Linked DNA regions of Homo sapiens: region 1 is linked to region 2. The links are contacts of gene promoters, found by promoter capture Hi-C in human tissues and cell types (Jung and others, 2019). All regions are on one chromosome and are shown on one strand. The core of a region is centred on a gene start or on the middle of the fragment in contact, and the rest is flanking DNA. Distances in the headings are between cores, read along the strand shown.

What was found. The method cuts DNA at HindIII sites, captures the fragments that hold promoters and counts their contacts. A contact is called where the count stands out against the background at its distance.
Region 1: a fragment that was not itself captured here is called in contact with the fragment with the promoter of M6PR in region 2 in 1 of the 25 tissues and cell types used here (spleen).

Annotation. Positions count from the first base shown.
Region 1 is chr12:8,088,881-8,096,225 of GRCh38, forward strand. It overlaps NECAP1 (NECAP endocytosis associated 1), which reads left to right. Exons shown (of 8, transcript NM_015509.4): 2 at 1,056-1,156; 3 at 1,315-1,419; 4 at 2,889-2,970; 5 at 3,796-3,904; 6 at 3,992-4,175; 7 at 6,721-6,823; 8 at 7,162-7,345. The coding sequence ends at 7,210. Among named protein-coding and RNA genes, the nearest start is that of NECAP1, 10 kb to the left of the region's middle. The HindIII fragment of the contact is 6,438 bases long and covers 2,868-7,345 here.
Region 2 is chr12:8,947,905-8,955,210 of GRCh38, forward strand. It overlaps M6PR (mannose-6-phosphate receptor, cation dependent), which reads right to left and starts at 1,741. Exons shown (of 7, transcript NM_002355.4): 1 at 1,584-1,741. It also overlaps a transcript of KLRG1 not described here. RefSeq lists enhancers at 1,005-1,910, 1,911-2,815, 2,314-2,443 and a silencer at 2,121-2,335. The HindIII fragment of the contact is 13,158 bases long and covers 1-5,320 here.

The DNA.
Region 1 (7,345 bases), core at 4,837-7,336, 850 kb before region 2:
CCCAGACATCTGTATGGATAACTCTCTTGCTTCACATTCTAGCTCACATTTCACCTTAATGAGACCTACCCCAACCACCCTCTTGAATGCTACAACTTGTTCATTCTCCCACTGTCTTCTTAATCTTCCTAATTTGCCTCTACATTTTCTTTTTACCTTAGAACTCACCACTTTCTAAGATACTAATTATGCTGTTTATTATGTTTCTTTTTTATTTTCTATCTTCTGTTAGGATGTAAGCCTCATGAGGGTTGGAATCTTTGTTTTGGTTGCTGTTGTATCCTAAGCATCTGGAACAGTGATGCATCTGTCCTAATAAGTACTGTATAAATATTGATTGAATTCAGTGAAAGATAGTATATTTACTGATTTGGGAGGGCTCCCATTACCTAGGATATTTAATGTAGTAGACTTTGTTGTTATCTGATTAGTAAAGCATGGTTATCTAGTATACCATCTATAGTTTGAAAATAGCATCGTTATGAGAAATTTTATTTATTTCTTTATTTGAGACCAAGTCTCGTTCTGTCGCCCAGGCTGGAGAGCGGTGGCGCAGTCTCGGCTCACTGCAGCCTCCACCTCCCAGGTTCAGTTGATTCTGCCTCAGCCTCCCAAGGGATTTCAGGCGCACGCCACCATAACCAGCTAATTTTTGTATTTTTAGAAGACGGGGTTTCACCGTGTTGGCCAGACTGGTCTCAAACTCCTGACCTCAAGTGATCCACCCACCTTGGCCTCCCAAAGTGCTGGGATTACAGGCTTGAGCCACCATGCTCGGCCAGAATTTTATTTTTTATTGCTTTTATTCGTGCTTTTCCATCTTTTTAATGATGCTTATTGGACTCCAAAGTCCTCAAGTAGTAGCATTGTCTTTTACTTGCTTTGGACTGTATGTAACATGAGGCATCTAAATAGATCATGAATTATTCTTGTTGATTAATAGGTAGAAAGAATAGGCAATCCAGGATAGGGAAATAGAAATACAGTCAAAGATTGTGGGTGGGCGTTAGTAAATTAAGGACATGTGCCTGAGGCTTCCTCTTTTCCTGTCCTAGGGCCTCTGACTGGAAATTAGACCAGCCTGATTGGACTGGTCGCCTCCGAATCACTTCAAAAGGGAAGACTGCCTATATCAAACTCGAGGATAAAGTTTCAGGTAATCTTTGCGGGTGACCCTCTAACATTAAGAATATTAATTTGGTGTGCTTTTATAAGTACCTTCAATTTGGGGACTGGAATGGAAATACTACTTGTTAATTGGGGTTCTGGATTTTGGCTTGCTTTACTCAAAAAAGTCTTTCTCTTATCTGTCAGGGGAGCTCTTTGCTCAGGCACCAGTAGAACAATATCCTGGTATTGCTGTGGAGACGGTGACAGATTCTAGCCGCTACTTTGTAATCCGGATCCAGGATGGTACTGGTAAGAGAACTGGGATTTTGAGTGGAACGAAGTTAGGAAAACAGGTGAATGCACAGCCATGAAAAGTGTTTCCGATTGCATTTATCTTTCTTTGGTTTACTTCATTTTTTCTTCCCTTTCTCTAAAGTTGCTCTAGTTGCTAAAGGAAAAGTATTAACATGTTATTTGTAATAGATAAGCACGAGTTCAAGATGTGGTAATTCATATGTAGACTTAAATAAATGAAAAACACATATCTAACAAATGAATTAACACATTTGGCACTTTAGGAGGCCGAGGTGGGTGGATCACCTGAGGTCAGGAGTTTGAGGCCAGCCTGACCAATATGATGAAACCCTGTCGCTACTGAAAATAAAAAATTAGCCAGGCGTGGTGGCAGGTGCCTGTAATCCCGGCTACTCGGGTGGCTGAGACAGGAGAATCACTTGAATTGGGGAAGTGGAGGTTGCCGAGATCACGCCATTGCACTCCAGCCTGGGCAACAAGAGCAAAACTCCATCTCAAAAAAAAAAAAAAGAATGAACACTTTTTGCCCGTTTATTGTTCGTGGTAGTTTTTGGTGGGACTATCTTGAATCATCTTACGTGTGGGGCAGTCATTCTTACTCTTTTCTCCATGGTCTATAACAGAGGTTGGCAAACAGACAAATAATAAATGTTTTAGGTTTTGCAGGTCAGGTGGCCTCTGTTGCAACTACTCAGTTTTGCTGTTGTAGTGTGAAATCACTGTAGAAAATATGTAAACACATTGATACCACTATGTTCCATGAAACTTCTTCTACAAAACCAGGCTATGGCAGGATAAAGCCCATGGGCTCTATGTAGTTTATCGACTCTTGGTCTATGAGAAGATATTTCACATTCAGACTTTGTCTAGTTAGGGTGACTGTTATATTTTCATTGGGCAAAATTTGCCATAGAGCAGCAGTCCTCAACCTTTTTGGCACCAGGGACCCGTTTTGTGGAAGACAGTTTTCCACAGACCGGCATTAGGGGATGGTTTCAGGATGATTCAAGTGCATCACATTTATTGTACACTTTATTTCTATTATTATTACATTGTAATGTATAATGAAATAATTATACAACTCACTATAATGTAGAATCAGCGGGAGCCTTGGGCTTGTTTTCCTGCAACTAGACGGGGGTGATGGGAGACAGTGACAGATCATCAGGCATCAGATTCTCATAGGGAGCTCATAACCTAGATCCCTCACATGTGCAGTTCACAGTAGGGTTCACACCCCTCTGAGAATCTAATGCTGCCACTGATCTGACAGGAGGCGGAGCTCAGGTGGTCATGCAAGTGACGGGGAGCGGCTGTAAATACAATGAAGCTTTGCTCTCTCGTGTGCAACTCACCTCCTGCTGCATGGCCTGGTTTCTAACAGGCCACAGACTGGTGCCGGGGGTTGGGGGCTCCTGCCATAGAGGATACTTCCTAGTCGAGTCTTCCTACGTTTTCCACAGGGCGCAGTGCTTTCATTGGCATTGGCTTCACAGATCGGGGAGATGCCTTCGACTTTAATGTCTCCTTGCAGGATCACTTCAAGTGAGTGAAGCTTGTCCTTAGTTACGAGGCTGAATGCTTATAGGAATGCTGCTTCTCACATGAATGGGCAGTATCTCTTTTCCTCCTGGTTTCTTTGTTTCTTAAACTATTTCATTGTGAATATAAATCTCCCCATTCACTTTTGTTTCCTTAGGTCATCTTTGTATCTATTCTGTTTCCTTTCCTTATAGCCTGCAATATATTTCAGATCCCTTGTGCAGTAGTTTGAAATGATGCTCTGTCGAATTTGCCCCGTCTTTTAGGTGGTAGAGGGAGGCCTATGGTAACAGCAGGGCTTTATGTGGGGAGTCGTGTGCCACTCTTGTTACCTTATGTAGCTGACATGTTTTGTGACTTTTGCAACATTTCTTTAGCCCACTTGATTTTGGTGCAGCTGTGGTTGACAGCACTGTGCACACTGTCAGCTTCCTACCTCAAGAGCAAGCATATCTCTCCTTTTCTGCCTTAGGACTCTCTGAAGTTATAGAAAGCTAAGAGCAAGCTTTAACTTGGAAAGACTAAGAAACTAACACCCCCTCAGGAGCAGCCCTCAACTGTGGGGAATGGGAATTGGTGGCTAAATACCATCCTTCTGGAAGGGGCAATTCTAATACGTATTCCGTGAGATTTCTCAGAGAGTCCCCAGTGGAATTGAACCCCAGTTGTTTTCTTTCTTGGCTTTTTTCCCTTCTGTTTCTCACTCTTTTTTATCTCTCACTGTGTTTTCTGGAATCTCATTTCATAAAAGTAAATACACCCAAATTTGTATGTCAGACTCTGCTTTCAGGAAATCTCAAACTAAGATAACTTGCTGTGTTCCCAAAGGTGGGTAAAGCAGGAATCTGAGATTTCCAAGGAATCTCAAGAAATGGATGCTCGTCCTAAGTTGGATCTGGGCTTCAAGGAAGGACAAACCATCAAGTTGTGTATCGGGGTGAGTATGGTTTTTAAAAATTTTGTTTTCCTGTGCTTCCATAAGCCTATGACATCTTTCTCTTGCTCTTCTTTTTTTCTTTTGTAGAACATTACAAACAAGAAAGGAGGTGCTTCTAAGCCCAGGACTGCAAGGGGTGGGGGTCTGAGCTTACTCCCACCCCCGCCAGGAGGCAAAGTCACTATTCCCCCACCATCCTCCTCAGTTGCCATCAGCAATCATGTCACCCCACCACCCATTCCGAAATCTAACCATGGAGGCAGTGATGCAGGTAAATCTAGTACTTCTAATTTTGAGAAATCCAATCTTATGTTTTAATTAAGCAACACCTGTTTGTCAAGGAGAGTTAATGTTTTTGCTATGAAATAGCTCATGGTACTGACAAGGTGATTCTGTCAGCTTCTAGCAAGGAATCAAAGCTTTTCTAGTGAACTAAGAGTCATAGTATCTCATAGGTTCTTTGGCAGAAAATATTTGCTTATTAAAATGACAATTTCCTTCATTTTTTTCTTGGTTAGATGCTTATAAGCTTTTGAGTCAGATGGACCAAGATTTTGGTCATGGCTCTGCTACTTTATATTTGAATGTGCTTGGTAAACATTACTTAAGTTTTTTGAGTTTCAATTGCCTTATCTACAAACTGGAGATGTAAAACCACCCCAGCGGGGACCTTGGCTCATGCCTGTAATCCCAGCACTTTGGGAGGCTGAGGTGGGTGGATTGCTTAAGCTTAGGAGTTTGAGATCAGCCTGGGCAACATGATGAAATCCCATCTCTACAAAAAAAATACAAACATTAGTTGGACGTGGTGGTGCACGCCTGTAGACCCAGCTATTTGGGAGGCTGAGGTGGGAGGATGGCTTGAGTCTGGGAGGCTGCAGTGAACCATGATTGTGCCACTGTACTCCAGTGTGGGTGACAGAGTGGGACCTTGTCTCATAAAAAAACAAAGAAACAAACAAAAATAAATAAATAAATAAATAGATAAAATAAAATAATTACCACCCCAAGGTCATGAGGGTTAAATGATTGACAGCACCTAGCATAGCACTTGGAACATAGTAGGCATTTAGTAAATGTTATTAAACTTTCCCATTTCTTCACAAGAGCAATTGGGAGAAAAGAAGATATCTAGGTTTGTCCATACACTTTCATTCTTTCTTTCTGTTTGGTGGGAGAAAGAATAAATATGGTTATATCTTCTCATTTGAAAAATGAGAGCATTGGAACTGAGAAAAGAATTTTTCTGAGATTAGAGAACTGTGTCTTAGAATCTGAGAATTTTAACTTAATGTATTGGACAGTGCAGATAATTTGTTGAATTGATTACTAAGGGTAAGCTTTCTCTTTCTGGAATTTTTGAGGTGAAAATATTATAGCCTGCTTCTTTTGGTAAGTGTTGCCAGAAGCCACTGGGGATAGTATCTAAGATTTTTTTTAAATTAAATTATTATTTTGAGATAATCGTAGATTAACATGCAGTTGTAAGAAATAATATGAAGAGATCCTGTTTACCCTTTTCCCAGTTTCCCTCAATTGGTAATATTTTGTGGAACTATTGTCAAGTATCACAAATGAAAAATTGATGTTGATACCACTTTCTCATCTTACTCAGCTTACACCATTTTACATGTTCTCATCTGTGTATATTTGTGTGGATCTGTATATTTAGTTCTATGCAGGATTTTTTGTTATTTTTTGAGATAGGGTCTCACACTGTTGCCCAGGCTAGAGTACAGTGGTGCAGTCATAGCTCACTGCAGCCTCAAACTCCTGGGCTCAAGAGATCCTTCTGCGTCAGCCTCCCAAACATCTGGGACTACAGGTGCACACTGCCACACCAAGCTAATTTTTTAATTTTTGTAGCAACAGAGTCTCACTACGTTGCCCAGGCTGGCCTTGAACTTCTGGACTTCAGTGATCCTCCTGCCTTGGCCCCCTAAAATGCTGGGATTACAGGTGTGAGCCACTGCATCTGGCCAGTTCTTTGCAGTTTTGTCATGTGTAGGTTCATGGATCCACCATCATTTCAGGTTATAGAACAGTTTAATCACTACAAAGATCCCCTGTGTCAACCTTACACAACCACACCCATCTCCCTCTCATCCTTTCTTCCCCCATTCCTAACGCTTGGCAATCACCAGTCTGTTCTCCATCTTTATAATTTTGTCACTTCAGGAATGTTCTATGAAAGGAATCATACAGCATGTAACCTTTGGGACAGGCTTTTCCCACTCAGCATAATTCCCTTGAGATTCATTCAAGTTGTGTGTCAATAGTCTGTTTCTTTTTATTGCTGAATAGTATTCCATGGTATGGATATACCAGTGTGTGTAACTATTGCCCATGGAATGACATCTAGGTTGTTTACAGTTTTTGACCATTATGAATAAAGCTGCCGTGGCATTTGTATACAGATTTTTGTGCAAACATAAATTCTCATCTCCAAGATTTTTTTTTTTTTTTTTTTTTTTTGAGACGGAGTCTCGCTCTGTCGCCCAGGCCGGACTGCGGACTGCAGTGGCGCAATCTCGGCTCACTGCAAGCTCCGCTTCCCGGGTTCACGCCATTCTCCTGCCTCAGCCTCCCGAGTAGCTGGGACTACAGGCGCCCGCCACCGCGCCCGGCTAATTTTTTGTATTTTTAGTAGAGACGGGGTTTCACCTTGTTAGCCAGGATGGTCTCGATCTCCTGACCTCATGATCCACCCGCCTCGGCCTCCCAAAGTGCTGGGATTACAGGCGTGAGCCACCGCGCCCGGCCCTTCCAAGATTTTGATTATGTTTTTCTTTTTTCTTTTCTTACCTTGTGTTTAGATATCCTTTTAGATTTGGATTCTCCTGCTCCTGTCACGACACCAGCACCAACTCCAGTTTCTGTAAGCAATGACTTGTGGGGAGACTTCAGCACTGCCTCCAGGTAATGGGCATAGTGAAACTAGCATACTCTCAATCAGGGTGTAGGAGATATGTACAGTCAATTGAAATCTTTGATCTGGAGAAGCAATGGATATGCAGGTCACATAGAGTCTTTTGGAAGAGTTCTAGTGAAGGAAATATAGTAGTGCTGGGAATGGGGGGACAAAAAAGCTGTAGGATGAGGTTTGAGTGGGATATTTCAGGCCTTTGTAAGTAGAATTGCCATGAAGTGTGGTTTTGGAAATTCTAGGCAGTGATTTCTTAGAAACTATTAAGTAAAGAATGGAGTTGTTATCCTAATATTATGTCTCTGGCTTTCTCTGTTCTCCTGTCTTGCAGCTCTGTTCCAAACCAGGCACCACAGCCATCCAACTGGGTCCAGTTCTGAATGGCATTGGCAGGACATTAAGGACAGACTTGAGGAATAAAAATGACCTTGAGGGCACCAATCTGTGAGGGAAGTTAGGAACCCATTTCCTCCCCAGAACCAGAATGACTGGACAATCTTTTTCATAGCTTCTCC
Region 2 (7,306 bases), core at 491-2,990:
AAATAAAGAACTCAGACCTCCAACTCCCACCTTCCCTAAGTTAACCCACTGCTCAACACACAACTTGACCAGCTGACTCACTAAAAAGAAATAGGAGACTCCTTCTTCTAGACTGACTTAGCCTGCCATTTTCCTTTCCAGTCTCTCAGGACCTAATTAAAAACTGACAGTTGATTTCTTTTCCTAAATTAGAACAAGGAATCTCACAAAATTAGGAAGGGATGAAAGGTTAAACACCTCAGCCATTAGCTGAGTTGAACTATCTTTCATTTGCTTATTATTCAAAAAGTTAGGATAATAAATTTATACTGTATTCTTCTTTCCTGCTTAAGGCTTGTCTTTAAATTTAAGCTGCTTCTCTTTAATTCAGTGGCATATGCGCTAAATGTTTTCCCTAGATTATGTTCATTCATCTTCACAACCCAGAAAATAGGTATAATTTTTCATACTTCACAGATGAGAAAACTGATGCTTTACAGAATTACTTGTTAAATTACTTGCTGTACATTACACAGATATTAAATGTGTGTGAAGTTACTGGGGCAATTTAGACGATTCGTGGCATAAAGATAACTGCTGGAAAACTTATAAACATAGGGGTGCAACAATCAGGAAGAGAATGAAATGGAAGGGCCCAGTAGCCCCCTTTTAATATGCTACAATTAGATTCTCAAGGTACAAGAGTTTGTCTATATACTTTGGAAATAAGGAGCAGGATTTTATGATCTTGAAAAATCTTTCAGTTTTCTTATTCTCTAACGACAGATCTATTTTATTTGGCAATGCTAAAAATTATCCTTTATTAGGGTGGCCAATGACTAAGCCAGCAACTGGGAAGCAGCTTACACCACTGGGCCTCTGTAGCACTCACTTCCCCATCTGTTAAGACAGCCATGGCCATTTACCAGTGGAATTTCTACTGTCTTCCCGCTGGCTCCTTTCTGATGTAGCAGTCCTTATCCCTTTTTCTCCAGCAGCCTACATGTTTAGAAAAGCAGCCTCAATTGGCTAAAAGGCCTAATGCTGAAAGAACTCAAGAGAGAAGGAGCCTCAGACAAGTAGCGGCTATGTCCCAAGAGCGGAAGCTCCCCACAACGAGGAACACAAGATAATCCGTCCATCAGCCATTCTTATCCACACCACAGTCGCATCCCCCTCAAAGCTCTCCCAGGGTGCCAGAAATTCTCGCTCTGTCTAGTGTCCCGACTTTCCAAGCGCTTGTAGCCATACCCTCTCCAAATGATGCCACTTGACCTCCCACCGTGATGCAGGCCAAAATTCCTCCTACAAATAAATCCACCAACACCTCCAACGGACTCCATACTTGGGGTATTTTCCTTTCCCTGCTTTCTAAATATCGTAAATCCCCTCTCTGGTCTTGGAAGTCCTTTCTCCCTCACACCTTTCGGAACTCCGTGACTCTCCGCTCTCATGCCTCCGCCTCCATTCTACCCTTAGGGCTCCTCAGCCAGATCTTTGGCTAGAACCATGGTCAAGGGAGAATGCGATTCCGGCTCCTGTCACAGACGCTTAAGTGTGAGCGCAACCCAGCCCGCCTCCTCCTCCACGCCCCTCACACTCACGTGTCGTGGGAAACTGGAGTAGCCAAAGCTCAGAATCCCCAGTGAATACCCTTCTGGGGATGGGAGACGGGGCCAGCTAGGGGCCGGCCGCAGACCCCGGTCCCAGAGCTAGTTTCAGAGGCCAGCGTTCCCCCTAGCGCCTCGCTGTGCCCCACTCTGGGAACCGGAAACAGGAAGCGCCAAGAGGCCGCTGGGCAACCGCTCCTCCCACCAGACCCCGCGGCATGTGACCATAGAACCATTTCGCCCCTTTCCCCTTCCCGGGCTCCCTGATAATCTTAAACTCTGATTGGCCAGTATTCTGGGACTTTAGCTCCGCCCTCGTTCCATCAGCTCCAATCACTATCGAGGTTGTCGTTTCGCCTTTTCTGGTTGCCTTTCTTTCAATGGGGTCCCAGAGTCCCGCTTCCAGGGCCTCTCGGCTCGCGCACCCCGGTCACGCGGGGTCACGCGCCTGACCGCTCCCGGGTAGGGTTCGAGTGAAGAGGGTGAGAGGGGCAGGTGGCGGAAGCGGAAGTTACGCAGGCAGCTCGCCCTCGGGCTCCGCGGGAGTTGTAGTTCTCACGCTAGGTCTCCTCCGGGCGCTTCCCTAGCCCGTTCGCCGCCTGAGAGGGACGCTGTTCCGCCGCGTGGAAGCTTCGAGTCTCGACTCCACTGTTGACCCCTAGACGAGAGTAGTGCAGCGACGGGGCCGTGATGTGCGTCCTGGCTTTCTTAACGACACCTCTCCTCTGTATTTCCTTTTTCCAGTTGAGTACCTTGGGGTGAATTATTATTGTTACTGTTATCTCTGTCGTTCCTTACTGCTTCGTGGTATTTTGCTTGATAAGCATGCTCTGCAACCACCTCTGTTCGCCAGAGGTTACTTCTGCAAAGTAGGAAGAAACGAGCAATACGATGGTAATCTTTGCGCCTTTGCTAAGATCTTTTGTAGGTTCCTTATGTCTTACTAGCCACTTGTTGAAGTCCTGCTCATTCTTAAACTCTGTTCAGATGTTATTTTTCCTGTAACTTCGTGCATTCACTCTCTTCAGAATTAACAATTTCTTCCTGTGGACCCTCGCTTGTGGCTTGTACCTGGCTTTAGCATGTTTTCATTCCGCTTCCACTCTTACGTTGCTTCTATGTGTGCCTCTCTGGCTCTATGCAGGTGCCTGGATTTTTGATTCTTACCCCTCTCATTAGAACTACTACAGTGTTTTGAGTCTAATAATAATAAAAGCTAACGGATGCATATCTCGGTGGTGCCCGGCACTTTTGTAAGTGCTTTAAACGATAGTTAATTCACTTGGTCTTCACACCAACCTTATGAGGAAGTATCTTATCCCAAGTTTACAGATGAGTAAATTAAAGCAGATAGAAGCTAAGTAACACCGTGGGTCCCAAGCTATTAAGTTATGGAGCCAGTATTTAAATAGTCTCCATAATCCATGCTCTCAAGCACTACGCTTTACCGACTGTATGCCATTCTGCATTTCTTTGTTTATTAGTAATACATTCAGTTCAGGCTAGGTAGTAATCATATCTGGGTTGGATGTTGCCCCAATAAAAAAAAAAATTAAATTTTTTTCTTCCTGAAAATGAAAGTAATTTGTGATCAGATAACACAGAAAACAACAAAACAAAAATCATACATAAACTCACCAGGAGGGTGTGTATTTCCTTCATGAATATATGTTGTTTCCTTTTTTCAAAAATGTATCAGTCCCACACTGTGGCTCATGCCCGTAATCCCAGCACTTTGGGATTCCGGGGCAGAAGGATCACTTGAGGTCAGGAATTCAAGACTAGCCTGGGCAACATAGTGAGACCCCTTCTTTCAAAAAAAAAAATCAGCTGGGCTTGGTGGTGCACACCTGTAGTCCCAGCTGCTTGGGAGCCTGAGGCTGGAAGATTGCTTGAGCCTGGGAGTTGGAGGCTGCAGTGAGCTATGGTCTTGCCACTACCCTCCAGCCTTGGTGATAGAGTGAGAACCTATCTCAAAAAGATATGTATGTATCAAATATTTTTCCATATCCTTGACTTTACAAATAAACTTTTTAATAGCATAATATTTAGTTCTATGCATTGCTACTTAACCAATGACATTAATGTTGAGCATTTAAGTTATTTCTACTGACTTATTTTTTATCAAGTAACTCAACACAGCTTTACTGAGCAATTACTATGTGCCAAAACCACAGAATATATAATATAGATCTTGGGGATACAGCAGAGAAAAAAGACAAAAATCCCTGTTACAATCCGTTCTAGAATTGATGTTCCTTTGTTGGTTAATTCAAGTTTTGATTTCAGAAATCTTACCTCTTGGTGACTGCCTAGAGTGGCATTGGGCTGGAGGGGAGGAACTGTTCATGTTGGAAATGGGGAATGGGCCAAAAATGCAATTGAGTAGGTTGATTAACTTGTCTGCTGTCAGAGTGGAAGCAGGGGTAGTTTCCCTTTCCGACCAGAGGCAAACAACCTGGGTCACTTCCTTGCTTCTCAGACCTCAGTGCCCTTTCTGGGTGCTTTCTGTGTTAGAATTCTCACCTCTGAGAACTGAGCTCAAGGTTCTTGCTGGGGCAAAAATTGAAATGAGCAGAATTTTTTTTTGTTTGTTTGTTTGCATTTCTGGCCTGCCTCCTTTCTTAGCCTCATTATTAACAAGCACACTCCCCACAATAAACCTACACCCACACTGCCTTCTCTCACACAAGGTAAATTGTTCACCTTGTTTAGAAAGCAGTTCTAGGATTGTTGGTCTGAAATCAAATGGGAAGGATGCCTCCTGTTCTGTATAATCATAAGAGAGGAAGGTAATTAACAGTCCTAGAACCTCAGCTTCCCAAGTAGCTGGGACCACAGGCGCAAGCCACCATGCCCAGCTAATCTTTGTATTTTTTGTAGAGACAGGGTCTCACATTTTTGCCCAGGCTTGTCTTGAACTCCTAAACTCAAATAATCTGCCTGCCTCAGCCTCCCAAAATGCTGGGATTACAGGTGTGAGCCACTGAGCCCGGCTCAGATGCTTTTCAAAATGATCATGTTTTCCATATTTCAAGGACTAAATATAGTTTTTGGTAACTTTCAATTTTAATATATTTATCATTTATAGAGAAGATGCAAGGATAATACAAAGAACTCTGGTACACATTTTACCTAAATTCATCTTTTTCCCCTCCATATACATTAGTTTATTTTGAACAGGTTGAGAGTAAACTTCCATTACCATTAAATATATCAGTGTGTATTTCCTAGAAACAAGGACATCCTCTCATCAAAATCAGGAACTACAGTATTAATACAATATTACCAAATCCATAGTCTGTATTCAAAATTTTATCACGTTTCAATAGATGCTATGTATAGTTACTTCCGATTTCCCAACAATCACAGGAGCCAAGCCAGAGTCACACATTGTAATTAGTTGTCATTGATCTTACTTGACTTTGAAATTTTGATAGGTACTGGCCACTTGTTTTGTAGAATGTCTTTCATTTTGGTTTTGTTTGATATATCTGATGTAGGATTTTTCTCGGTCACTTTGCCAACCAGGGACCCGTCCATAGCTAGTGACACCCCCCCCCCGCAAAACCCCCAGGCCTCACTTGACCTGCTGCCTGTGTTATAGTTTGTATCTGCATTCGGTGGTTCCTGAACTCTTGTCCCACATCCAAGAAGAATGAGGATATGCTGACAATTTGAAGGATGAGAAGGATGGAGAAGAATTTTATTGAGCGATGGAACAGCTCTCAGCGGAGAGGGGATGTGGTAGGTGGAGGTGGTCCCCCACCCCTGCAGTCAGGTGGTTTCTCACCCAATGTGGCTAGGTCTGGGCATTTATGGATTCAGAATGGAAAGTGTGTGCTGATTGGTTTGTGAGTATGCAAAAACAGTTAAAGTGAAGACACCACTCAAAGGTGGGCACGACAGTGTAGAAAACCAATTAGGAAAGGGTAGGTGTATATAAAATGGGTGAAAGGTGGGGATCAATCAAAGAAAAATGTGCCAAATGGGAAGACAGGTTTTTAATCCGGTCCATGGATTTGACTTGTAGCTTGGCTTTCAGGCTTTAAACTGTCTTCAGCTTGGAGATGGGGTTTCACTGGGGATCTGCCTAGGCATTTGTCTGCCTCCTGCGGCTATCATTTCCTCATGATTATATTTAAGTTTGCATTTTTTTTGGATAGAAATGCAAGGGAAGTGATACGTTTTTATATCAATCAGGGTCCATTCAGAAACAGATATCATATTGGCGATTTTAACAGGAAAAATTTAAAGAATTATTTTCTAGTAAAAGATGATCAGTTACTAAAAGAGGACTCTATGATACAGAAGAAGCAGCTACGAAAAGGAGCTGTTACTTCTAGGGCTGAAGAAGAGTTAATAAAGGAGTTACTTAAGTTAAAGGAAATGCTCCCTTCCCCACCTGCAAGATTAGAGATTCAGATCTCTGAGGGGAGGGTGTGTTTCCTACCACAGGAACATGCAGTCCACCCACTGATGAGGCCGAGAAGTTGCGGGAGGGTGTGGGCCTCTGTTGAGCAGCCAGTGGGAGCCTTTTAGTGGTGCCTCCTTTATCCTTTTGACATGTCCATATGATTTTTTGAGGAATTCTTTACTTTCAGGCACATAAGATGTTCCGATTTTATCTTGTAGCATTCAGCATGAATGGACCTGGAGGACATCATGCTGAGTGAAATAAGACACACACAGAAAGAAAAATATGATATGATATCGGTTGTATGTGGAGTCTTGAAAAAAATCACCATAGAAACAGTGTAGGAAGATGGTTACCAGGGGCGGGGTAGGGGAAATGGGAAGATGTAGGTCAAAAGGTACGAAGTTGCGGTTAGATTCTAATGTTCTAGTGTGTAACATAAGGACTATAGTTAATATTGTATTGTATACTGGTACTTTGCCAGGAGAGTAGATTTTAGGTACTCTTACCACCAAAAAAAAAATAACTACATGAGATGATGAATATGTTAATTTGCTTGACTGAAGTAATCACTTCACTATGTATATGTGTATCAATCAAAATATCTTGTATGCCTCAAATGTATATTTTTAAAAAGTTTTGTGGTTCTCTTACCCTTATCCTAGAATCAGTCATTTCACCAAGGGGTCTTGGTTCTTTTAGTGGAAAATGGTATTGAAAAACCAAGATGTGATTACGAGTTGTGTTTGTTGCTACTTGTGTGTCACTGCTTCAGTGTCAGCAGACAGAGCTAGGAAATTGTTTATTTCCAAGAGTGAACCAAGTTCCCATTATATTCATTGTATGTATACATTTATTCACATATAAGAAAACACAGGAAGTGATTTTTTAACTGATAAGCCATACGATGTGTGAAGCAAGCCTACTAGTAAGAGTTCCATATTTGTTTAAAGTTCTGGTTTCTCTTGTTAAGGCAAAATATATAAGTCATGAAATGTACAACTCTTTTTTTTCTTTTTTTTTTGAGGCGGAGTCTCGATCTCTTGCCCAGGCTGGAGTGCAATGGTGCGATCTTGGCTCACTGCAACCTCTGCCTTCTGGGTTCAAGCTATTCTTCTGCCTCAGCCTCCCGAGTAGCTGGAACTACAGGCGCCTGCCATCATGTCTGGCTAATTTTTATATTTTTAGTAGAGATGGGGTTTCACCATGTTGGCCAGGCTGGTCTCGAACTCCTGACCTTGTGCCGCCCACCTCGGCCTCCCAAAGTGCTGGGATTACAGGCGTGAGCCACTGCACCTGG